Linked DNA regions of Homo sapiens: regions 1, 2, 3 and 4 are each linked to region 5. The links are contacts of gene promoters, found by promoter capture Hi-C in human tissues and cell types (Jung and others, 2019). All regions are on one chromosome and are shown on one strand. The core of a region is centred on a gene start or on the middle of the fragment in contact, and the rest is flanking DNA. Distances in the headings are between cores, read along the strand shown.

Region 1 (4,504 bases), core at 1,252-3,751, 160 kb before region 5:
TGCCAACAGGCTGGAGGCCCCTGGAGGATGGGCCCCAGCACCCACACACACCCTGGGCTCCGGAGCCCAGCGGGTGAATGCATCTGTCCCCAACCTCCATCCCAGGCTGCATCCCCACCCCCCAAGGACTCGTGTCACTGACCAGCCTCGGCCTCGTCACCCTTGGCATCCGGCTCCTGCCACCAGTCAGCATACATGCCCTCCTCGTAGTCACCCTCCCCCTCAAACTCGGCGTCAGATAGGGCATCCTCAGGCTCCAGGGGCGGTTCTGTCTCCTCCAGCTCCATCTAGAGTAGCGCCACGGTTGTGGGAGAAACCGGGTCACAGTACGCCCAAACCCATATGGGCTCCCTTCCTGGCCAATGGGACTTCCCATCCCATCTCTCGGTCCCCAAAGCCCCTCCCCCTCCCCAGTCTCAAGATCTAATGAGACAGTCCTGAGGATTTTTCCCAAACTGCCCCTCCCTGAGTGGCTGCATAGGGCACCACCAGCAGAATTTGGTGTCAGCATAAACATCGCCCCTGCACAGCCCCACCTTTTAAGCATAAAGACCCTGGCAAGAATATTGCTAGTCCATGCATAATATTTGCTCATACTGTTTCCCTGCCAGGAACTACTGCTGTCCCCTGTGCCTGCGTAGCCCGCACTAATCCCTCCAAAGCCAGGCATCAGTTCCAGGCTGAGCCCTTGCTGGTGACTCTGGCTGGGCTGGAGACCTCCCCTGGTGCCGTGTGCTGCCCTCTCCAGCAGCAGTTTGTGCTTCCCCCACTAGACTGTGAGCGGCACGTGAAAGGGACCATGACTTCCTTTTTTTTTTTTTTTTTTGAGACGGAGTCTGCTCTGTTGCCCAGGCTGGAGTGCAGTGGCATGATCTCGGCTCACTGCAAGCTCTGCCTCCTGGGTTCACGCCATTCTCCTGCCTCAGCCTCCCCAGCAGCTGGGAATATAGGCGCATGCCGCCACTCCTGGCTAATTTTTTGCATTTTTAGTAGAGACCGGGTTTCACCGTGTTAGCCAGGATGGTCTCAATCTTCTGACCTCGTGATCCGCCCGCCTTGGCCTCCCAAAGTGCTGGGATTACAGGTGTGAGCCACCGTGCCCCGCCAGGACCATGACTTTCACTAACTTACTCCAGCCCCTAGTCTGGTGTCTGGCAAACCACAGGAAATAAGAGACAGCCGTCAAAATGGCTGCCATACGCCAGGCGTGGTGGCTCACACCTGTAATCCCAGCACTTTGGGAGGCTGAGGTCGGTGGATCATTTGAGGTCAGGAGTTCAAGACCAGCCTGGTCAACATGGTGAAACCCCATGTCTCTACTAAAAATACAAAAATTAGCTGGGTATGGTGGCACACGCCTGTAATCCCAGCTACTCAGGAGGCTGAGGCAGGAGAATCGCTTGAACCTGGGAGGCGGAAGTTGCAATGAGCTGAGACTGCACCACTGCACTCCAGCCTGGATGACAGAGTGAGACTCGGCTGTCATTCACTGTGCACCTACCAGGTACTGGCTCTTTATCAAGTGCTTTACATACTTGATCTCAGCCAGGAGCGGTGGCTCACGCCTGTAAACCTAGCACTTTGGGAGGCCGAGGCAAGCGGACCACTTGAGGTCAGGAGTTTGAGACCAGCCTGGCCAACGTGGTGAAACCCTGTCTCTACTACAAATACAAAATAAAATTGGCTGGACATGGTGGCGCATGACTGTAATCCCAGCTACTCGGAGGCTGAGACAGGAGGATCTCTTCAACCCAAGAGGTGGAGGTTGCAGTGAGCAGAGATCGCACCACTGCACTCCAGCCTGGGTGACAGAGTGAGATTCTGTCTCCAAGAAAAAAAAAAGAAAAATGCATACTTGAGGCCGGGTGTGGTGGCTCACACCTGTAATCCCAGCACTCTGGGAGGCCGAGGTGGGTGGATCACAAGGTCAGGAGATCGAGACCATACGGGGTAACATAGTGAAACCCCATCTCTACTAAATATACAAAAAAAATTAGCCGGGCGTGGTGGCAGGCGCCTGTGGTCCCAGCTACTTGGGAGGCTGAGGTAGGAGAATGGCGTGAGAACCTGGGAGGCGGAGCTTGCAGTGAGCTGAGATCACGCCACTGCACTCCAGCATGGGCGACAGAGCGAGACTCTGTCTCAAAAACAAACAAACAAAAAAACATACTTGATCTCACTTAATTCTTTCTCTTTTTTCGAGACAGAGTCTCAATCTGTCACCCAGGCTGGAGTACAGTGGCGCGATCTCGGCTCACTGCAACCTCTGCCTCTGGTTCAAGCCATTCTCCTGCCTCAGCCTCCCCAGTAGCTGGGATTACAGGTGCCCACCACCACACCTGAGTAATTTTTGTATTTTTAATAGAGACAGGGTTTCACTATGTTGGCCAGGCTCGTCTTGAACTCCTGATCTCAGGTGATCCCTCTGCCTCGGCCTCCCAAATTGCTGGGATTACAGGCATGAGCTACCATACCCGGCCAGATCTTGTGTTATTCTCACCACAACAATGTGAGATGGGCATGATTCTCCCCATTCAATGGATGAAGAAACAGAAGCTTGAGAGGTTGCCTGACACTTGTTTGGAGGCCACCCAACTGGTAAGTAATGGAGCCAGGTCTGGCTAGTTCCTCATCCTGGGTGCTGACGGTGTAGATTCTGCCCTCCTCCTCTGGGGTTGGATGGGTGGGGGCGTGGGGGCATGAACAAAGGAGAGGATACATAAATGAGCACTGAGCAGCAACACCTCAGAGAAATTAAGGCTGTCAAACCCTCACTTGAAATCAATGTTAATAGGGCCGGGTGCGGCTGCTCACGCCTGTAATCCCAGCACTTTGGGAGACCGAGGCAGATAGATCATGAGGTCACGAGGTCGAGACCAGCCTGACCAACACGGTGAAACACTGTCTCTACTAAAAATACAAAAATTAGCCAGGCGTGGTGGTGCACGCCTGTAATCCCAGCTACTCCGGAGGCTGAGGCAGGAGCATCGTGTGAACCCGGGAGGCAGAGGTTTCAGTGAGCTGAGATGACACCACTGCACTCCAGCCTGGGCGGCAGAGCGAGACTCCATCTCAAAAAAAAAAAATAAATAAATAAATAAAATAAATCAATGTAATACAATACGGTCCTTCTGTCCTGAGGTCCTGCATTCATTCATTCACTGGTTCATTCAAACTCAGTTTCTGAGCCCAGGCTCTGTGCAGGATGTGGGAGAACAGGGAATAATGTGGCCCTGTGTCCTGCAGTGCGGTTCTCCTGGATACTGGCTGGAGAAGGGGCCCAGGGCTGAGATGGACGAGGGCTGCAATCACCCAGGTCCAGGCCACAGGTGGCCAGGGAGGCACACAGGTCAGAGTGGGCACTGCTAGCCCAGAACAAAGAGCCAGGGCATGCAGCAAGGGCTTCCTGGAGGAGGCACCATGTGAGCTGGGCCTGGGAGGAACAGGATTGAGACATGTACAAAAGGAGGACATGAGAATACTAAGGCTGGGGAAGGAACGGACAGTCTAGACAAGGAACAGGCAAACCTCTCTTCTTCACGACAGCTGACCACCAGGGGCTGGGGCTGAATTCTGGCACACTGGTGGCCCCAGGAAAAGGTCCAAGGTGTCCCCATCACAGCCCAATCCTGGAAAGCAGGAGGCACTCACCTCATCATCTGACTGCAGGTACATGTGGGTGAACTCCAGCAGCTCCCGCAGCTCGGCGGTCTGGTTGTGGTAGAGCATGGCCTCCTGGAAGGAGGGAAGGACGGGGTGGGGGGTGAGCCATACCCTGTTGCCAGATGGCAAGAAGCCAGGGCTCCTAGGATCTGGGCCCACTGGCCCTCTTCTAGCTCAAGGATCAGAGAATAGGTATCAGCTCACAAGCTCATCAGATCATCGTGGCTGCTTGGAACACTGGGTTAAGGATTCTGAGAGTTTGGTGACAAAGAGTCCCTCAATCGATTAGCAATGTCTGCCACTGACAAGGAAGGCAGGAGTGGCACCATGTGCCCCATATTTGCCAGCCTGGCCCTCAACTCCAACAGATTTCCTCCATTGGTTACCTAGGGTGTTCCTGGGAAAGAGGGACAAAGGTCAGCAGTGAGGGTAATGAAGGTAGGGAGGGGAGCAGGTAGGAGTGGATGTGTACCTTCATACCTCCCTCGTCTGGACACTGCTGGTGAGGTGGCAGTATCACTGCCATTTTGCAGGTGAGGCAATAGATTAGGAAAGGGCCATGGTCTTCCCAGGACCACACAGCAGTGGGGCTGGGCTCTGAAGCCAGGACTCTAACCTCAACTCATATTCTTTCTTTCCATTTCCCATCCTGCCTTCCATGGAAGCCAGGAGTTTATTTTTTATTATTTATTTATTTATTTTTCTTTTGAGACGGAGTCTCGCTCTGTCACCCAGACTGGAGTGCAGTGGCGCGATCTCCGCTCACTGCAAGCTCTGCCTCCCAGGTTCACGCCATTCTCCTGCCTCAGCTTCCCGAGTAGTTGGTACTACAGGCGTCCAC
Region 2 (4,574 bases), core at 572-3,071, 180 kb before region 5:
TCCAAATCCTGCAAAAAGACCACATTTCAGATTTTTTTTTTAAACCGGGGTACAAACCCTGATCAAGATCCCCAATTCTGGGTGGGGGGGGGCGGTCTCAGGAAATTGGGAGCAGGGAAGGCAGGGGGCCCGATGCAGCTCTGCCTGAGAGAGTCTAGCATTGAAGAAACCTTCCCCCAAAAAGCCTTCCTGCGGTCTCACTTTCCCTGTCAAATTCTTTCAGGAAAGCGGGTGGGAAAGGTCTGTGCAGGCCTCCAGAAAGCATGCACCTTCACAATTCAGAAATCAAATGGAAGGCAAGTCCCACAGCCTCATGCGCTTCTGCCTCAATAACCAGCCAGCTAAGTAATGTGGGGGATGGGGTAGAGGCAAAAAAAAAAAGACAAGAACAACCACTCCCCCCACCTTCCTCAGTTTGGCCCAGCCCTGCCCCACCCCCATTCCTGGGGAGGGGGCAGAGCTTGAGAGACAACCACTTACGCAGGCCTTGTCTGAGGGGGTGTGGTGGTCCCAGGAGGCAGGAAGAGAAGGAAGAAGCTGCTTCCCCTCTCAGCACTTTCCACCCCCCACCCCGGCCCCTACCTCAGGCCCCTGGGGCCCAGCGAACAGGATGAATGTGGGGGCAGGGAAGACAGGGTCGGAGCCCAGGCACCGGCCCAGGTTCAGCCAGGGGCCGGCTGGGGGAAGGGGTTTTGCACCAGGAAGGACCCCCTAAGCCTAAAGGAAGTTTTGGGCAAGGAGACGGGAAAACCCCCAGATAAAGCTGCTGTGAATACTTCCTCCTGCAAAGTTTGTTTTGGGTGATTTTTTCCAACAATAAGAGGTTAGAGAAGACGGGTCCTGTTCCCCTACCAACACTCTGGCAGCCACAGCTACTGGAAACTGGGCCAGGTGACCCTGAATTCTTCATCCGTGCACAGACCCCACCCCCCAGACCCCAGGGCGAGCCACGGGTGCCAGACACCAGCTGGACACTGAGCCGAGCCCTGCACCCCCCAGTCACTCCATCCCACCTCCGCTGAAGAAGCCAGAGCCGGGCTCCCACCGGCGTGGAGGGAGGCGCCGCAGGTAGTATCGACGAGGCTCTGGGAGCTGGAGGGCAGGGCCTCTGGACTCCGTGCGCTCACCTGCTCGGCAGGTGGGGCCAGAGTCGCTGGGAAAATGTGCGCTCGGCCCCCACAGTTGGGCAAGCTGGGCGCAAACAATAGGGCCCCACCCAGGCCTGGGGGAGTAGGGAGGGAGGGAAAGCGAGGATGACGCGTGGGGTGGGGTGAGGGTGGCCCCAAAGAGACCAGCGGCAGCAAGTTCCCCAAACGGTAAATTCCTGACTGCAGCGTGAGCCCTGGGACGCAGTCGAAGCAGAGCAAAGTCTCCCCCGCCAGCCCAGGGCGAGAGTCAGGGACGCGGCGTCGGGCGAGCTGCGCGGGCCCCGGGGGAGGCGCGACCCCGGAGGCACCTGTCCGGATCCCTCCCCGCCTTGCTCAGATCTCTGGTTCGCGGAGCTCCGAGGCGCGCTCGGCCCGAACCGCGCGACCCCCAAGTCGCCGCGCCCAGGACCCCAGCGCGCCCCCTGCCGCCGGTGCAGGGTGGCGCTCGATGGCACCGGCCCTCACCTGCCCAGGGACGGCTGGGACCGGCCCCGCGGCCGCTCGCCACCCCTCTGTCCCCAACGATACCTGCGCCCCCGATAGCCCGCACCTGAGTATGGGGCCTGACCGGGCCGGGTCGGGGTCGGGCCGGGGTGGGAGCCGGCGCGGACAGCGAACTGAGCTCGGCGTGGTCGGGCGGCGGCTGCTCCGGACTCTGGCCAAGGCAGCAACTCAGTAACCGAACAAAAGGCGAAGAGACCTGACAGCCAAGCCACGCCCCTCGCCACCTCGAAGCTCCGCCCCTGGGGGAGACGCCCACCCTCTGGTGCGAGCTCACTGGCTATCTCGCCTGACTGTCCCGTGGAGGGGCGGAGCCTCGCCTCCAGTCCTCTTCCACGGCCGCCTCTGTTTATCCGCTTGCCATTGGCCCCGGGGACTGCCAGTCGGCTCTAGGGATGGACTCTAACTTGAGGTCTCATCCTAACATTGCATCTATTGGCAGATAGAAAGTTACTTCCTCCTGATTGGACAAGGCTCTGTCAGTAAGACTAAGGAAAAAACCAATGGAAGGGATGGGGTGTGTCTTGCCCCACCCTTGCTCTGAGCAGGTGAGACTCATTACTCTCCCCTTCCCCCTACCTGTCCAACAGGTAAGTCATAGGGATACCAAGGGAAGGGACAGACGCCTTCACCGGCCAGCCAACTCAGCGTCAGGCATGATGCTTCTTTGGGCTTATTCATCCTTGCCCCAAAGTAGTAATCACATATTTGTATAGCATTTCATAGGCTTTGTGCTGGGGTGGGATTTTTTTCCCGAAAGATGGAGTACTCCTGGGATTTAGAATTAGAAGGCCAGGTTTGGTCTTCTCCCACTTGGTATGATTTTAGGCAAGTTACTTCACCCTGTTTCTCCTCTTCTGTAAACTGGATACATTAGCCATATCTACCTCACTGGAGTATGTGGGGATTAAATGAGGTCAGGTTTGTGAAAGCACTCAGAAACTGCTAAAGGTTAGAAATTTAAATTAACGGTATGTTTTTTTTTAATTATTGTGACAGCTCTGAAAAATAGTTAGGATGAGAAAACGACCCTCATTGTAAAGATGAAGAAACCGAAGTTCAGAGAAGTCACAAAACTACAAAGTGGCACACCCCAAGCTAGAACCTCCTTCCTCTCATTTGAAGGACCATCAAACCAGCTGTTCCCCTCATGGAAGAGGAGCATAGACATAAAATGTCAAGGCAATGGGGAAGGGGCAGAGAAAAGGCACAAACACTTGGAGGAGAGACAGAACAATTAATTGGCACAAAAATACAGTATTGGTGTCAGGAGGCTTTGGTGGGCTTGGAAACATCAAGCAGCAGATCTGAAGGAAATCCAGCCCTGGCATGAAAGAAACGGGGCAGGCCAGGCGCAGTGGCTCACTCCTGTAATCTCAGCATTTTGGGAGGCAAAGGCGGGTGGATCACCTGAGGTCGGGAGTTCAACACCAGCCTGGCCAATATGGTGAAGCCCCATCTCTACAAAAAATACAAAAAGTTAGCCGAGCGTGGTGGCGGGCAACTATAATCCCAGCTGCCTGGGAGACTGAGGCAGGAGAATTGCTTGAACCTGGGAGGCGGAGGTTGCAGTGAGCCGAGACCATGTCACTGCACTCCAGCCTGGGCATGACAGAGCGAGACTCCATCTCAAACAAAAAAAAAAAAAAGAAAAGAAAAAAATAAACCGGGCAGCACACCCCTCTGCGATAGGAGAGCCTGGGGTAGAGATCAGAGAGAACTTCTCGGCCAGGCGTGGTGGCTCATGCCTGTAATCCCAGCAATTTGGGAGGCCAAGGTGGGCAGATCACTTGAGGTCAGGAGTTCGAGACCAGCCTGGCCGACATGGTGAAACCCCATCTCTACTGAAAATACAGAAATTAGCCAGGCATGGCAGCGGGCACCTGTAATGCCAGCTACTCGGGAGGCTGAGGCAGGAGAATGGCGTGAACCCGGGAGGCAGAGGTTGCAGTGAGCTGAGATCATGCCATTGCACTCCAGCCTGGGTGACAGAGTGAGACTCTGTCTCAAAAAAATAAAAAGGACTTCTCACAGGCAGCTTAAGAAGACAAGGGCACTTCCTTTCTGTGGTTGATGACATGAATGCTGCTCGTGGCTGTATGGTGTGCCAAGGGCCCTACAAACATTCCTTCATTCAACACTTGAGTATTCATTGTCAACTGTATGTTAGGCACTGGTGAACACAGAAAATAAAACCTGGTGACACAGGAAATAAAAATGATCCCAACCTTCAAAGAGCTCATAGAAGGATAAGCAGAAGCAGCGTGTGTGGGTGGGTTTTGGAGGAGTGGTGGTTTAGAAAAGGGTCCCCCATCAACAAAGCTCTACAGCCCCAAAGCTAGCACACAGGATGGGCTGGATGAAGGTACCTTAGCAGCAACCTTGACCACTTTCCCCACCAGAGAAAAGAATGGTAGCTGAACATTCTCCCTTCTGAAGTTGCGCCATCCAAAAGCAGGGCCAGGGAGATACGGACATCCCTGAACTAGTGGCCATCCCATAACCAGGGCCACCGCCCTTTGCCTGTTTCCTCAACTCTCCATCCTCCAGCTTACCTCCCTATCTTTATCCCTGCCTTACCCCTGCCCCATCCACCTGCTTGTCACCCTGTCACATAGAGCTGTAGCCAGGCCACAGCTGGGGAAGGAATGGGCTCACAATCCTGGACTGCTGCAGCTGCCAGGGTTTCATTTCTTCCCCCTTCTGCCCACCTCCCACCTCCACACATGCACACACACATACGTCCCAGCTCCAAGCCTGGCCTGACTCCTTCCTATTTCTCCTGACCTCAGCAAAGAGGCAGGGTAGGGCTGGTTGACTGCAGAGAGGGGTGGAGGAGCCCATGTGGGTGGAGGAGCAGAAATAAGGTTTCAGAATAAACCGTGTGTGTGTGTGTGTGTGTGTGTGTGTGTGTGTGTCTCCCCA
Region 3 (4,649 bases), core at 165-2,664, 250 kb before region 5:
GGTTTTAACGTTGCAATGTTTCCCAGTGCACTTAGAATACAACCTGAACTCCCTGCCACAGCCCTGAAAGCTAGCCCTGAGGTTCTCCTCCCACTGTGCGCCAAGTGGCTTCCTTCTCTTTGTCCTCTCGGTCCTTTCCCTTACACAGACACGCCATGTTCTCTCTTGCTCAGAGCCTCCGACCTTGCCATTCCCTGTGCCTGCAACGCTCTTCCCCAGGCACAAATATGGTGGGCTCCCCTTTCCTCCTTAGCTCTTGGGTGAAATGCCTCTTCCTGAGAGACCTACCCTTTCTGCTCCTCACCCTTCACACATAGACCCAGTTATTCTCTACCACAGGGTCAAATAAAAGAGAAAAAATTAAGCTTTTTAAAGAATGAATGCTAGTTGTATTCAGAAGTCTTACAGAGGACTATAGATTGAGGCCTCCAGCCCAGGAGCAGGCTCTGGCACAATGTTTCAGCCCATTGCTTATATACATCTGGGGGCTAAAGGTGGAGGTTCCGTATGTGCAAAATCCCATCAGACTTGCTCAGAATTACATGACAGCAGAATCACAGCAAGATTTGGGTCCTAGATCACAGAGGCATCATCACTAACCTCGTCAGATGTCATCTTGGAAATGTTCTGTGTCAGAAAAGCCAGGGACTAGGATTATTTCTCTTTTAAGAAACGTGAAGACTCAAGCCGGGCGCAGTGGCTCACATCTGTAATCCCAGCACTTTGGGAGGCCGAGGAGGGTGGATCACTTTAGGTCAGGTGCTCGAGACCAGCCTGGCCAACAAGGTGAAACCCCGTCTCTACTAAAAATACAAAATTTAGCCAGGCATGTGCCTGTAGTCCTGGCTACTCGGGAGGCTGAGGCAGGAGAATTGCTTGAACCCGGGAGGCAGAGGTTGCAGTGAGCCAAGATTGCGCCATGACACTCCAGCCTGGGCAACAGAACAAGACTCTCTTTCAAAGAAAAAAAAAAAAGAAGAAGAAAAGAAAAGTAGTGACTCAGCCAAGAGACATGGGAGGGCCTCAGGCTCTCTCCTGTGCTGTCTTCAAAGCATCTTTCCGGAGGGCTGCACGTCTGTCTCTAGTCACAGAGTCAGGTGCTTTGTGAAACTGTGCCGACAAGCAGAAAGGAGCAAACACAGCTTCTTAATGTTTGTTGCTTTGTCTCACAATAGCAGAATATTTTCTTTAGAACACATTTCACAATCTGTAGTTGTTTTGTTTGCCAGTTTATTGTCTGCCTCTCGGGCAAAACAGGAAACTGGGAGCGTGACAAGTCCCTCCTCCCTTCTGTATCCCCGGTGGCAAGAATAGGAGGAACCCAATAAATATTTGTAAATAATTGCTCATGAGTGGCTGGTGCAGGCATTGCTGGTGTCTCACTCCATTCCATCATTGTTCTTGTGCCTGTTGACACCATTACCTTGAGCTACCCGCCACCTGAGGGCTGTAGAGGAGGGAAAGTGTTTTCTCTACCCATCTTAGGTCCTCGGCTGGGGCTCTGTTATAAAAGACAGATTACAAGAGAAAAGCAAACAAGTTTATTAACATGTGTATCACACATTTAACACACAGAGTACCCAGAGTTGAGTAACTCAGAGAGGTAGCTTAGAATTCAGGCTCACACTGTCTACGGCCATACCACCCTGAACGCGCCCGATCTTGTCTGATCTTGGAAACTAAGCACGGTGGGGCCTGGTTAGTACTCAGATGGGAGAATTCAGGCTCACAGAGCATCTTCAACAAAGAACAATACATTTGTAGGCAAGATAAAGGACAGCAATTTTTAGACTTCCAAGGGTGGCTAACTGTGTGTGGGAAACAGCTTTCTGCCCGTGGGAGCTGAGCCCTGTCCCCTCTCAGGGCTGGGTCTGGTAGCCAGTGGGCCTCCCCCGGCTTCTCCTGCCCCCCTGGGCTGCCATGTGACCCACATCCGGCAGTCACAGCTCTTGTGCCAGCTGCAGAACAAGGGCTGGGGTTCCTACCGCCTGTCCCAGAAGAGGGCTGAGGTCCAGGCCCCCAAGCTCCAGCCTAGGTTAGACTTCCAAGGGTGGCTAACTGTGCATGGGAAAGCAGCTATATGGAAAACGAATGGTAGATAAAGGCTAGTGAGTCAAGTTTGTTATTAGATTGCACTGGTGCCACTCCAGGCTGAAAGGGGTCTAAAGTTGTCTCCGACTTGTTCCAGACATTATGGAAGGAAAACGTCCTACGTAAATGAAATTGTCATTCTGTGTCCTCCCACCACAGCAGCAGATGTGTCCTTCCGTTGAGTGAGGGTAACCTTACGTCCACCAAGGATACTTGGAGAAAGTCTATGAGGAGCAAGCTTCAGTCCCACGGTTTCAGACTATTTATGCTCTGAACACAAGAGTACTGGTTAATTATGTTCTCAGCTCTCCTCGCTGTTCTAAGTGTGCACTTGTTGCAAGTAACTTATATTTTTTTATTTGAATGTATTTTATTTTTTTGAGACAGAGTCTTGCTCTGTCACCCAGGCTGGATTGCAGTAGTGCCATCTCAGCTCACTGCAACCTCCACCTCCCAGGTTCAAGCGATTCTCCTGCCTCAGCCTCTCAAGTAGCTGGGATTATAGGCAGGCACCACCATGCCAGGCTAATTTTTGTACTTTTTAGTAGAGGTGGGGTTTCACCATGTTGTCTAGGCTGGTCCTGAACTCCTGACCCCGTGATCCACCCGCCTCAGCCTCCCAAAGTGCTGGGATTCTCTAGGTGTGAGCCGCTGCACTCAGCCTGAATGTATTTTAAAGCAGTAGATAGAATAACAAAGGAATATGAAAACCATGGATTGAATGGACCATTTTATGTATTCAGAGAGACGAGCCACCATCATTGCCAGAAATACCATGTAAAAATTGGCAATTTGGCCAGCCGCAGTGGCTCACGTCTGTCATCCCAGCACTTTGGGAAGCCAAGGCAGGCGGATCACCTGAGGTCAGGAGTTCGAGACCAGCCTGACCAATACGGTGAAACACTGTCTCTACTAAAAATACAAAAATTAGCTGGGCATGGTGTTATGCATCTGTAATCCCAGCTACTCAGGAGGCTGAGACAGGAGAATTGCTTGAGCCCAGGAGGCAGAGGTTGCAGTGAGCTGAGATCACGCCATTGCACTCCAGCCTGGGAGACAGGGCGAGACTCTGTCTCAAAAAAAAAAAAGGCAATTTGGAGATTGCAGTATTTAGTAAACAAATAAATGATCAACATTGTGCAACCACTACCAAAAAGTGTATTGTAATGCATCAAAAATCAACATTTTATTCACTAATGAGTATCAATAAAATAAGTCCAAATTATGGAAACCAAAAAAATAATAAAAAATAAAGTTGTCTCCAGATATTTAACTTTTTTTTTTTTTTTTTGAGACAGAGTCTCACTCTGTTGCCCAGGCTGGAGTGCAGTGGCACGATCTTGGCTCACTACAAGCTCTGCCTCCCGGGTTCATGCCATTCTCCTGCCTCAGCGTCCCAAGTAGCTGGGATTACAGGCGCCCACCACCACGCCTGGCTAATTTTTTGTATTTTTAGTAGAGGCGGGGTTTCACCGTGTTAGCCAGGATGGTCTCGATCTCCTGACCTCATGATCCACCCACCTTGGCCTCCCAAAGTGCTGGGATTACAGGCATGAGCCACCGCGCCCAGCTTTATTTATTTATTTATTTATTTTTGACACAGAGTTTCGCTGTTGTTGCCCAGGCTGGAGTGCAATGGGGCAATCTCGGCTCACTGCAACCTCCGCCTCCCAGGTGCAAGCAATTCTTTTGCCTCAGCCTCCCAAGTAGCTGGGATTACAGGCATGTGCCACCACACCTGGCTAATTTTGTATTTTCAGTAGAGACAGGGTTTCTCCATGTTGCTCAGGCTGGTCTTGAACTCCTGACCTCAGGTGATCCACCCACCTCGGCCTCCCAAAGTGTTAGGATTACAGGCATGAGCCACCGTGCCCAGCCCAGAGATTTAACTTTTATCCTTCCTGGTAGATGGACACAGTTGAAAATGTATGTCCTGTTTTTATGCAAATAGGAGGGTAGGGAGCTTTTCTTGTATCTGCTTCTTCTCAATTGCCTTCAGCTCAAAATAGTCCTTATGCCAAAGTGGCATATTTGGAGGTAACACATTCTAATTTCCTTCAGGGCCAAGTGCAGGGCAGTTAAATGCCTCCAGAAGCATCTCTCAGACAGTGTCAGATGACAGTTAGAGGATAAATACCCCAGCTCCCCCACCCAAGGGGTGGGATAACTCTGAGATATATTCTTTTTTTTTTTTTTCCTTGAGACGGAGTTTCACTCTTATTGCCCAGGCTGGGGTGTAATGGTGCAATCTCAGCTCACCGCAACCTCCACCTCCTGGATTCAAGCGATTCTCCTGTCTCAGCCTCCCGAGTAGCTGGGATTACAGGCATGTGTGCCACCATGCCCAGTTAATTTTGTATCTTTAGTGGAGACGGGGTTTCTCCATTGGTCAGGCTGGTCTCGAACTCCTGACCTCAGGTGATCCACCTGCCTCGCCCTCCCAATGTGCTGGGATTACAGGTGTGAGCCACCTCACCCAGGCTACTCTGAGATATATTCTACTGTCCCCCAGAGTTCCCAGCAGGACTGAGACCCGGTTAGCCACAGCAATAATCTTC
Region 4 (4,373 bases), core at 1-2,500, 130 kb before region 5:
CTCTATACTGGAATCTTTGGTTCCAATCAGGAACCATTTGAAGTAGCAAATGACAACCATTTCTGAGCAAAGGACGGGAGCAACCCACCTCTTTCCGACACTCCTCACTGATGATCTTGCTATTATCCAGAATATCTGGAAAAAGAGAAAACTCCTTTTACTTGTCCCTTAGAACCCATCGTCTTGTCAAGCTCAACAAGGGAAGCTAGAATGTGACTTACTGTAAGAAGAAGGGCATCGCTTTCCATTATATGCAAACCTGCTCAAGGTCATGTCAAAATCAGAAATCACCTATAAGGCAAAAGAGAGATGATGCCTAAATAGGCACCAGAATTCTAGTGTGGCCCTGCCTCAGCCTGGGGGATGATTATGGAAATCAATACAGCTCAGTGGCCAGGATGTAGGCAAAGCCCTAGGGGAGTTACCGAGTGACACAGAGGGATAGAGGGGAAGTGATCCTAATTAGTACCCGTTAACCCTGAGGAAAACGCAGTCTCCTAGTGTGGGGGCAAGGGTGAATACTCAGGACCCCTCTGACTCCTTCAATATCAGGTCCCTCCTAAGAGATCTCTACCATTACGGCCCATCTGGACATCTTCAACTTACTGGGGAGCCGCTGGCTTGGGGAGGATAAGGCCCTAGGTACTGGTGTGGGCGCCTTCTGTCCAATTAGAGGAAGCAGCATGACCATATTGAGAAATCTGAAATTTGGGTTTTAGGACAGGCGAACCAACCCGCTCTCCTTCAAGCTCCCGGCCATTTCTTGGGGCAGAGAGCTAGGAGGGGTCCGCGGCAGAGCAAAGCGGGAAGGCCCAATGGGCAGGAAGCCTCTCCAGCCGCCCCCAGCCCGGCCGGCCCCCGCACGCCCCAGAGGTACCTGTAACCGGTCTCCGCCGCCCTTGCGGAGGGCGCCCACGATCTCCTGCACCCGCCCAGGCTGCCGCATCAGGACCGTGGCCTTCATCAGGGTGCTCACCTGTCCCGAGACCCGAGAGAACCACTGACCCCTGCGCCACGCTGGGCCCGAGGGGAGCCCGGGGCTCGCTCGGGCGCGCGTGTGAGGCGGGGCCGGGGTGCGCGAGGGGGCGGCTACTGGCCTGGGTGAAGCGGCGGTGCCTCGGTGACCAGCTGGGGGGCTCGAAGCGCCCCGGGGGTCGGAGTCCGGGCCCGCCCCACTCCGGACGCTTCCTCCCTCCTCACCTCCTCTGCCATCCCGTTCGAGGCCTGGTCGGCGGCTCGCGGGACAACGACAGCCCCGCGACCGCACTGCGCAGGCGTCGCCTCCCGCCTGGAGCCCGGGCGGGGGTTGGTGGGGCCGGGGGCGGGGCGGGGGTGGGGCCGAGAATCGAGCGGTCCCGGAGATGGCCGCGATCCGGGTGGGCTTGCCGGTTGCGCTAGGCAAACTGGAGGAGGGTTCTATTTATTATGAAGAGCAGGGTGAAGGTCCCAAGGTGTTGGGGTTACGTGGGTAGGTAGGGTTCTGCCACTCTTTGTGGAGGAAAAGCCTTGCCAAACGTGGTCATTTCCAGGCTGAAAGTTTGTGACAAAAACATGACTGGGGCTGGGCGCGGTGGCCCATACCTGTAATCCCAGGACTTTGGGAGGCCGAGGCAGGATGATCGCTTGAGCCGAAGAGTTCGAGACCAGCCTGGGCAATATGACGAAACCCTGTCTCTACAAAAAATACAAAAATTAGCCGGGCATGGTGACACGCACCTGTTGTAGTCCCAGCTACTCGGGAGGCTGAGGCACGAGGATCACTTGAGCCCGGGAGATCCAGGCTCCAGTAGGCCGAGATCATACCACTGCACTCCACCCTGGGTGACAGATGACACCCTGTCTCAGAAACAAAAACAGAAAAACCACACGGCTGGATGGGAGGAGAGATGAAGGAGCCATAAACTGAATTCTGTTAATCACCCAGAAAGGGCTCTGTTAACTAGGCCATTCCTCATTCCAGAAGAAACTGAGTGACTAACCCATCCAGCGGGCTGGGAGACCCGGGACAGCTTTCTGAAATGTAATCAGCGTTGGCTGGGCACGGTGCGGAGCACTTGTAATCCCAGCTATTCAGGAGGCTGAGGTGGGAGGATCACTTAAGCCCAGGAGGTCGAGGCTGTAGTGAGTTATGATCACACCACTGCACTCCAGCCTGGGTGAGAGAGCGAGACCCGTCCCTAGAAAAAGAAAGATTTTTTTTTTGAGATGGAGTCTCACTCTGTCGCCAGGCTGGAGTGCAGTGGAGCGATCTCGGCTCACTACAACCTCCATCTCCTGGGTTGAAGCGATTCTCCTGCCTCAGCCTCCCAAGTAGCTGGGACTACAGGCATGTGCCACCACGCCCAGCTAATTTTTGTATTTTTAGTAGAGACGAGGTTTCACCATGTTGGCCAGGATGGCCTTGATCTCTTGACCTTGTGATCCATCCACCTCGTGCTGGGATTACAGGTGTGAGCCACTGCGCCCGGCCTAAGAAAGAAATTTAATCAGTTTTACTTCTCCCTTCAGCCTCAATTGACTTGGATTTCCTTGAGTTCGGTGTCTAGGGAGCCAAGTGTTGGGCTGTGGAAGGTAGATGAATGCTCCAGGGATAGAGACCTGTATCAGGTGAGTAACAGGAGCTGGAATCAATAAACACTCAGATGGTGCTAGTGGTCATGGTTCTGTTTTGGGTTCAAGGACACAGAAGGAGGTGTGAGGTGGTTTTCAGCCTAAGTGGGGTGGTAAGGAGGGGAGAAGGAAGAGGACAAGTCCAGGAGGCAGTTCCAGAACCTGAGAGCACAATCCTGTGTGATCTCACTGCAGGGCCAGGATTCTGGAACTTGGGTTGCCTGATAGACCCTATACAAAAGATGTAGTAGGGAAAAGGAGCGACAGCTGGCTAAAGGGGCCCCCCACAACCCTCCCCGACACCCTAGGAAAGCAGCCTCTCTCCGCTGTCCCAGGGTGCCATGGAGATGGAGAGCGCGGCGGCCTCCACACGTTTCCACCAGCCTCACATGGAGAGGAAGATGAGTGCGATGGCCTGTGAGATCTTCAACGAGCTTAGACTAGAGGGCAAGCTCTGCGACGTGGTCATCAAGGTCAATGGCTTTGAGTTCAGTGCCCATAAGAACATCCTCTGTAGCTGCAGTTCCTACTTTAGGTATAACAGGGTTGCCAAATTCAGCCAAAGGGGTAATTGGGCTCATTTTGAGACACTTTGATCCATTTTCTGTTTCCCACCCCATCACCTTAACTTTAGGGACACTGTCAAAGCTCTGGGCTCCTTAAAAATTAAAAAAAAATTTTTTTTTTAGAGATAAGCTCTCATTCTTTCACCCAGGCTGGAGTGTAGTGATGCAATCATAGCTCACTGCAGCCTTCAACTGCTGGGCTCAAACAATCCACCTACTCCAGCCTCCCAAGTAGCTAGGTCTACAGGCACATGCTGCTACGTCCGGCTACTTTTGAAATGTTCTGTAGAGAGGGAGTCTCGCTATGTTGCCCAGGCTGGTCTTGAACTCCTGGCCCAAAGCGATCCTCCTGCCTCAGTCTCCCAAAGTGCTGGGATTACCACTGTGCCTGGCCAACTCTGGTCCAGGCAGGAGCTCCTGCCTGGCTCCTTTGCCTTCTGAAGAGGCATGACTAGGGTCAGGGCCTTTTTTCTCTCTTTTTTTTTTTTGTTTGTTTTGTTTTTTTTTTTCCTTTTGCTCTTGAGAGATCTGATTTTTGTCTTTTTTTTTTGAGATGAGTCTCATTCTGTTACCCAGGCTGGAGTGCAATGGCGCCATCTCGGCTCACTGCAAACTCCGCCTCCCCAGTTCAATCCATTCTCCCACCTCAGCCTCTCAAGTAGCTGGGATTACAGGCGCCTGACACCACGCCCGGCTAATTTTTGTATTTTTAGTAGAGACAGGGTTTTGCCATGTCGCTCAGGCTGGTCTCAAACTCCTGACCTCAGGTGATCTGCCCGTCTTGACCTCCCAAAGTGCTAGGATTACAGGCATTAGCCACCGCGCCTGGCAAGATACAATTTTTCTTTTTTTAAGATGGAGTCTCGCTTTGTCCCCCAGGCTGGAATGCAGTGGCGTGATCTCGGCTCACTGCAACCGCTGCCTCCCAGGCTCAAGCGATTCTTCTGTCTCAGCCTCCCGAGTAGCTGGAATTACAGGCTCCCGCCACCATGCCCAGCTAATTTTTGTGTTTTTAGTAGAGACGGGGTTTCACCATGTTGGTCAGTCTGGTCTCGAACACCTGACTTCGTGATCCACCCACCTTGGTCTCCCAAAGTGCTGGGATTACAGGCATGAGCCACTGCACCCAGCCTTTAAGGTCTGATTTTTCAACTGGATTTCAACCAACTATTGGTGGGCCAGGTGCTTTAATCTTTG
Region 5 (4,269 bases), core at 1,388-3,887:
TCAAGCGATTCTCCTGCCTCAGCCTCCCAAGTAGCTGGGATTACAGGCGCCTGCCACCATGCCCAGCTTATTTTTGTATTTTTAGTAGAGACGGGGTTTCACCTTGTTGGCCAGGCTGGTCTCAAACTCCTGACCTCAGGTGATCCACCTGCCTCGGCCTCCCAAAGTGCTGGGATTACAGGCGTGAGCCATGCCGCCCGGCCGTGTGATTTCTTTTCTATCGATCTCAGGTCCCTTGACTGCAAACTCAAATCAACGGCAGTGCGCATTTTCATGATGTCTGGATGGGATAAGCTATACAGCCCTCACGTGATGCACAGGACGGAGCTGGGCTCAGTCAATGATGGTTCCCTTTCTCTGCTTTTGGAAAGGTGTGCTGTCAACACCAATTTAAAGAGCTGGCAAAAACAGTCATTCTCAGGGCCTTTCTCTCATCGGCCTCTCAAAAGCACAGGCCTCCACAGAGATGAACAGTTTCTTTCTTTTTTTTCTTCTTTCTTTTTTGGAGACGGGTCTTGCTCTGTCACCCAGGCTGCAGTGCAGTGGCTGGATTTTGGCTCATCACAGCCCCAACCTCCTGGGCTCAAGCGATTCTTCTGCCTCAGCCTCCGGGTAGCTGGGACTACAGGCGCCAACCACCACGCCTGGCTAATTTTTGTATTTTTAGTACAGACAGGGTCTCACTGTGTCGCCCAGGCTGGTCTGGAACTCCTGGCCTCAAGGGATCTGCCTGCCTCAGCCTCCCAAAGTGCTGAGATTACAGGCGTGAGCCACCGCACCCGGCCTGACATGAACAAACTTTTATCTTTCTTCCCGCTTTTCTCTTATTTTTCAGAAGCTTCACTGTATGAAGATAGAATAATAACAAGAGAGAAGGACATGAGGAGAGTGAGAGATGAGCCCGAGAAGGTGGTGAAGCAGTGGGACCATAGTGAGGATGAGAAAGAGACAGATGAGGACGATGAGGCTTTTGGGGAAGCTCTGCAGAGCCCAGCAAGCGGAAAGCAGAGTGTGGAAGCAGGAAAAGCCAGAAGCGATTTGGGAGCAGTTGCCAAGGGCCTGTCAGGAGAATTAGGCACAAGATCAGGAGAAACAGGCAGGAAGCTACTAGAAGCTGGCAGAAGAGAGTCAAGAGAAATTTATAGGAGGCCTTCGGGAGAATTAGAGCAAAGACTCTCAGGAGAATTCAGCAGACAGGAACCAGAAGAACTAAAGAAACTTTCAGAAGTGGGCAGAAGAGAGCCAGAAGAACTGGGAAAAACACAATTTGGAGAAATAGGAGAAACGAAAAAAACAGGAAATGAGATGGAAAAGGAATATGAATGAAGCCATCGGTAGAGATGAGGATCAGGAAGCTGGTGTTCAGAGGGATCATGGGATTTTATTAAACTGGATTTTCAAGCGATTTGTCTGTTATAGGAAAAATGAGGGTTTTACTTCTGCTGCTTTCCATCACTATTTTGCCATTAAATAGGTGTCTTTCACTCTTGCAAACCCTGAGTCTGTCACTTTGCCTCTTCACCCCTGCCCATTCTTGGAAGAGCATCGTGGAAGAAATGAGAAAGGTGCCAAGAAGAAAGGGTTTCAGGAGGGTGAAGATACGGGCGCTACAGGGAACAAGAAGTCACAGGGAGGAGAGGGGAAGGCCTGGGAGGAGAGGTGCTTCCCACACACCGGTGACTGACTGAGTCCCTCCAGTGCGCAGGACAGCGGGGAGGCTTTATGGATGGAACAGTGGTGGGGCGGCCCCAGCTGTCACAGGTAGGAGAATGCCGCAAGCCAGAACCAAGCGAATGCTGGGAGTGAGGCCAAAGATAGGGGAGTGGCCTGGGAGTCGGGAGGGCAGACAGACTCCGCCTCTGACACCTCTGGGTGGCATAATCAGGTAAATCAGGCTCTCCAAGCTGGCTTCTCCTCTGAACAATGGGATACCTGCCTCAGGGGTTGCTGCGAGGACTGAGTGCTTAGCACAGCACTTGGACAGGAAACTCAAAAATCCAACGGAGCTCTCAGTGGTTTCACAGAGGAGGTGGCAGCTGAGGATCTGGCCTCAGAGGATGTTAGGATTTCACTCCGTTACTCATCTGTCCCTTTGGCCATTGCCATCCTGGTCTGTCTCCACAGCTCCTAGAAGGAAAGGTCGGGGCTGAGACTGACTTTCGGCTGGCACAGGGCCTGGACGAATGAGGCCAGTGAGGCATTTCAGATGCAGAGTTTACCGGAATGCCAGCAAATTGCATGATAATATTTTAATCCAATGTGGTAAAAAAAAAAGTTTTTAATTAATGCAAAAGTCCATGATGAATAAAATATCAAAAATTAAAGACAGGATCCGACTTTGCACGACCCTGCCTCACTCACTTCCTGCTAATCCACGGGACCGGGGAGGGTGACTGAGTTACCCCTCAACACGCAGAAAAAGCTAGTGGCCGCTCAGCTCGCAGGCGCAGTGGGTGGGTGCGCGTGGGGAGCAGGCGCGCGCAGGGGGCGGGACCGGGCCGAGGTTCCCGCGCGCGGCGAGAGTTTCGGGTTTTGGTTCGCAGCGCCTGCGCGCAGAGGAGACGGCCCGCCCCCAGCCCGCCCGGGTGCCCGCTCCGCCCCCCGGGCTATGTAAAGCGGCCGGGCTCGGGTCGTGCCACCGCTGGACTCCCGTGTCCCTCCGCGCAGGCGGGCGGCCCCGGAGCGCTGGTGCCGGCAGAGGCGGCGACGGTGGCGCCCCTCCTCATCATGGTGAGAGGCCGGGCGGGGCCGGGCACGGGGTAGCACCAGGGCGGGAAACGAGTGTCGGGGCCCCTCGGGAGGAAGCGTCTTGCAAACGAGGACCCGGGGCTCCGGGTTCGACTTCCAGTTTTCTTGGTACTCAGGGCGGCCCTGAGGTCTGGGAGAAGCGGAGGGGTTTTGGGGTGCCGGAGAGGCCGCTGTAAAGGGAAACGGTGGTGTTTCTCAGGAGGGAACTCGGGACCGCAGAAGCTGCTGCGCCTCTGGGAGCCTGGGTGGGCCTGGGCCGGGAGCCCGGGAGCTGCTCCCGACCCCACGCAGGCCCGCGCTGGGGCAGCCGCTTCGGCGCCCCCTCCCCGGGCCCAGTCTCATCACGCGGAACCGCTGCCCCGCGCCCGGGTGCGGGCGGGAGGTGGAGCCAGTTCAGAGGAGGGGACCCTTTACGGTAAAAGCTGCCGTCCCTTGTGGCTTCTAGAAGATAGGAAAACAAGTGGCTCCGAGAGGCGCTTCTGACACACAGCACAGCGGCGGGTAGAGCTGGATCCTAATTGCAGGTGCCCTGTGCTGCCCTGTTCTGGACAGGCACAAAGACCACGACTTTGTGGGGGCCGGGAGAGGGTAGAGGAGGAGGTGGCAGGCTTGGTGAAAGAGGGCCTTTGTCCAGTGCTCTCCTGCCCTGCCCCCCACCAGCCCTTCTGTGGGACCATTGTACCCGCATGCCAGACAAGAGAGTATTATCTGTTGCGGCCATTGTTGGGGGAAGGGAGGCAGTCTTGGGGTAACCCTTCTCCACTCCCCCCCTTCTCTGTGCACTCAGCCGTGGCAGCTGTGGCTTGGCCCAGACACAGAGACCCCCACCTCCAAAGAGGACGTCCTTAGTAGGTGCCAAGCATATAAGAGTGAGGCCAGTCCCAGAACCGCAGGCTCCTGGCGCGCCCCGCATGCCTCCAGCACGTTTACCTTTCCGAAGTGGCAGGAATGGGGAAAGCGCACGCTTAGGAGAGCTTCAGACAAGCTTCCCTCTTCCTCCTCCACGACCAGAAGCGGAAAGGTGCTCCCGGACCGAAAGGGAAAGAAGGTCCAGCACTGCCCCGCTTGGGAAGGCACCCACAACCAGTCTAGGGACTAGGGGTAAGGCCGGCGGGGAGCCCGCGAATGACCTGGGCTGACATCTCTTCCCCTCCTTACACAGAACAGAGGCTTCTCCCGAAAAAGCCACACATTCCTGCCCAAGATCTTCTTCCGCAAGATGTCATCCTCAGGGGCCAAGGACAAGCCTGAGCTGCAGTTTCCCTTCCTTCAGGATGAGGACACAGTGGCCACGCTGCTAGAGTGCAAGACGCTCTTCATCTTGCGCGGCCTGCCAGGAAGCGGCAAGTCCACGCTGGCACGGGTCATCGTGGACAAGTACCGTGATGGCACCAAGATGGTGTCGGCTGACGCTTACAAGATCACCCCCGGCGCTCGAGGAGCCTTCTCCGAGGAGTACAAGCGGCTCGATGAGGACCTGGCTGCCTACTGCCGCCGCCGGGACATCAGAATTCTTGTGCT

Evidence for each region. The method cuts DNA at HindIII sites, captures the fragments that hold promoters and counts their contacts. A contact is called where the count stands out against the background at its distance.
Region 1: a contact is called between a fragment that was not itself captured here and the fragment with the promoter of CNP in region 5, in 4 of the 25 tissues and cell types used here (H1 embryonic stem cells, dorsolateral prefrontal cortex, heart left ventricle and 1 more).
Region 2: the fragment with the promoter of JUP here is called in contact with the fragment with the promoter of CNP in region 5 in 1 of the 25 tissues and cell types used here (liver).
Region 3: a fragment that was not itself captured here is called in contact with the fragment with the promoter of CNP in region 5 in 2 of the 25 tissues and cell types used here (lymphoblastoid cells and mesenchymal stem cells).
Region 4: a contact is called between the fragment with the promoter of NT5C3B here and the fragment with the promoter of CNP in region 5, in 1 of the 25 tissues and cell types used here (adrenal gland).

What each region holds. Positions count from the first base shown.
Region 1 is chr17:41,803,145-41,807,648 of GRCh38, forward strand. It overlaps P3H4 (prolyl 3-hydroxylase family member 4 (inactive)), which reads right to left. Exons shown (of 8, transcript NM_006455.3): 6 at 3,652-3,735; 7 at 143-287. Among named protein-coding and RNA genes, the nearest start is that of P3H4, 6.6 kb to the right of the region's middle. The HindIII fragment of the contact is 7,644 bases long and covers 1-4,504 here.
Region 2 is chr17:41,784,890-41,789,463 of GRCh38, forward strand. It overlaps JUP (junction plakoglobin), which reads right to left and starts at 1,822. Exons shown (of 14, transcript NM_002230.4): 1 at 1,699-1,822. RefSeq lists silencers at 1,114-1,326, 1,491-1,790. The HindIII fragment of the contact is 40,774 bases long and covers 1-4,574 here.
Region 3 is chr17:41,716,526-41,721,174 of GRCh38, forward strand. It overlaps a transcript of HAP1 not described here and the pseudogene RNA5SP442. Among named protein-coding and RNA genes, the nearest start is that of GAST, 6.5 kb to the left of the region's middle. RefSeq lists a silencer at 932-1,226. The HindIII fragment of the contact is 4,495 bases long and covers 1-3,662 here.
Region 4 is chr17:41,834,982-41,839,354 of GRCh38, forward strand. NT5C3B (5'-nucleotidase, cytosolic IIIB) reads right to left here and starts at 1,251. Exons shown (of 9, transcript NM_052935.5): 1 at 1,201-1,251; 2 at 878-976; 3 at 222-291; 4 at 89-135. The coding sequence starts at 1,212. KLHL10 (kelch like family member 10) reads left to right here and starts at 2,844. Exons shown (of 5, transcript NM_152467.5): 1 at 2,844-3,145. The coding sequence starts at 2,952. RefSeq lists silencers at 735-844, 975-1,354 and an enhancer at 1,775-1,854. The HindIII fragment of the contact is 24,571 bases long and covers 1-4,373 here.
Region 5 is chr17:41,964,158-41,968,426 of GRCh38, forward strand. It overlaps CNP (2'',3''-cyclic nucleotide 3'' phosphodiesterase), which reads left to right and starts at 2,638. Exons shown (of 4, transcript NM_033133.5): 1 at 2,638-2,730; 2 at 3,911-4,269. The coding sequence starts at 2,728. It overlaps ODAD4 (outer dynein arm docking complex subunit 4), which reads left to right. Exons shown (of 12, transcript NM_031421.5): 12 at 836-2,346. The coding sequence ends at 1,326. RefSeq lists enhancers at 1,911-2,010, 3,112-3,669, 3,670-4,227, 4,228-4,269 and silencers at 2,381-2,820, 2,951-3,140. The HindIII fragment of the contact is 7,030 bases long and covers 1-4,269 here.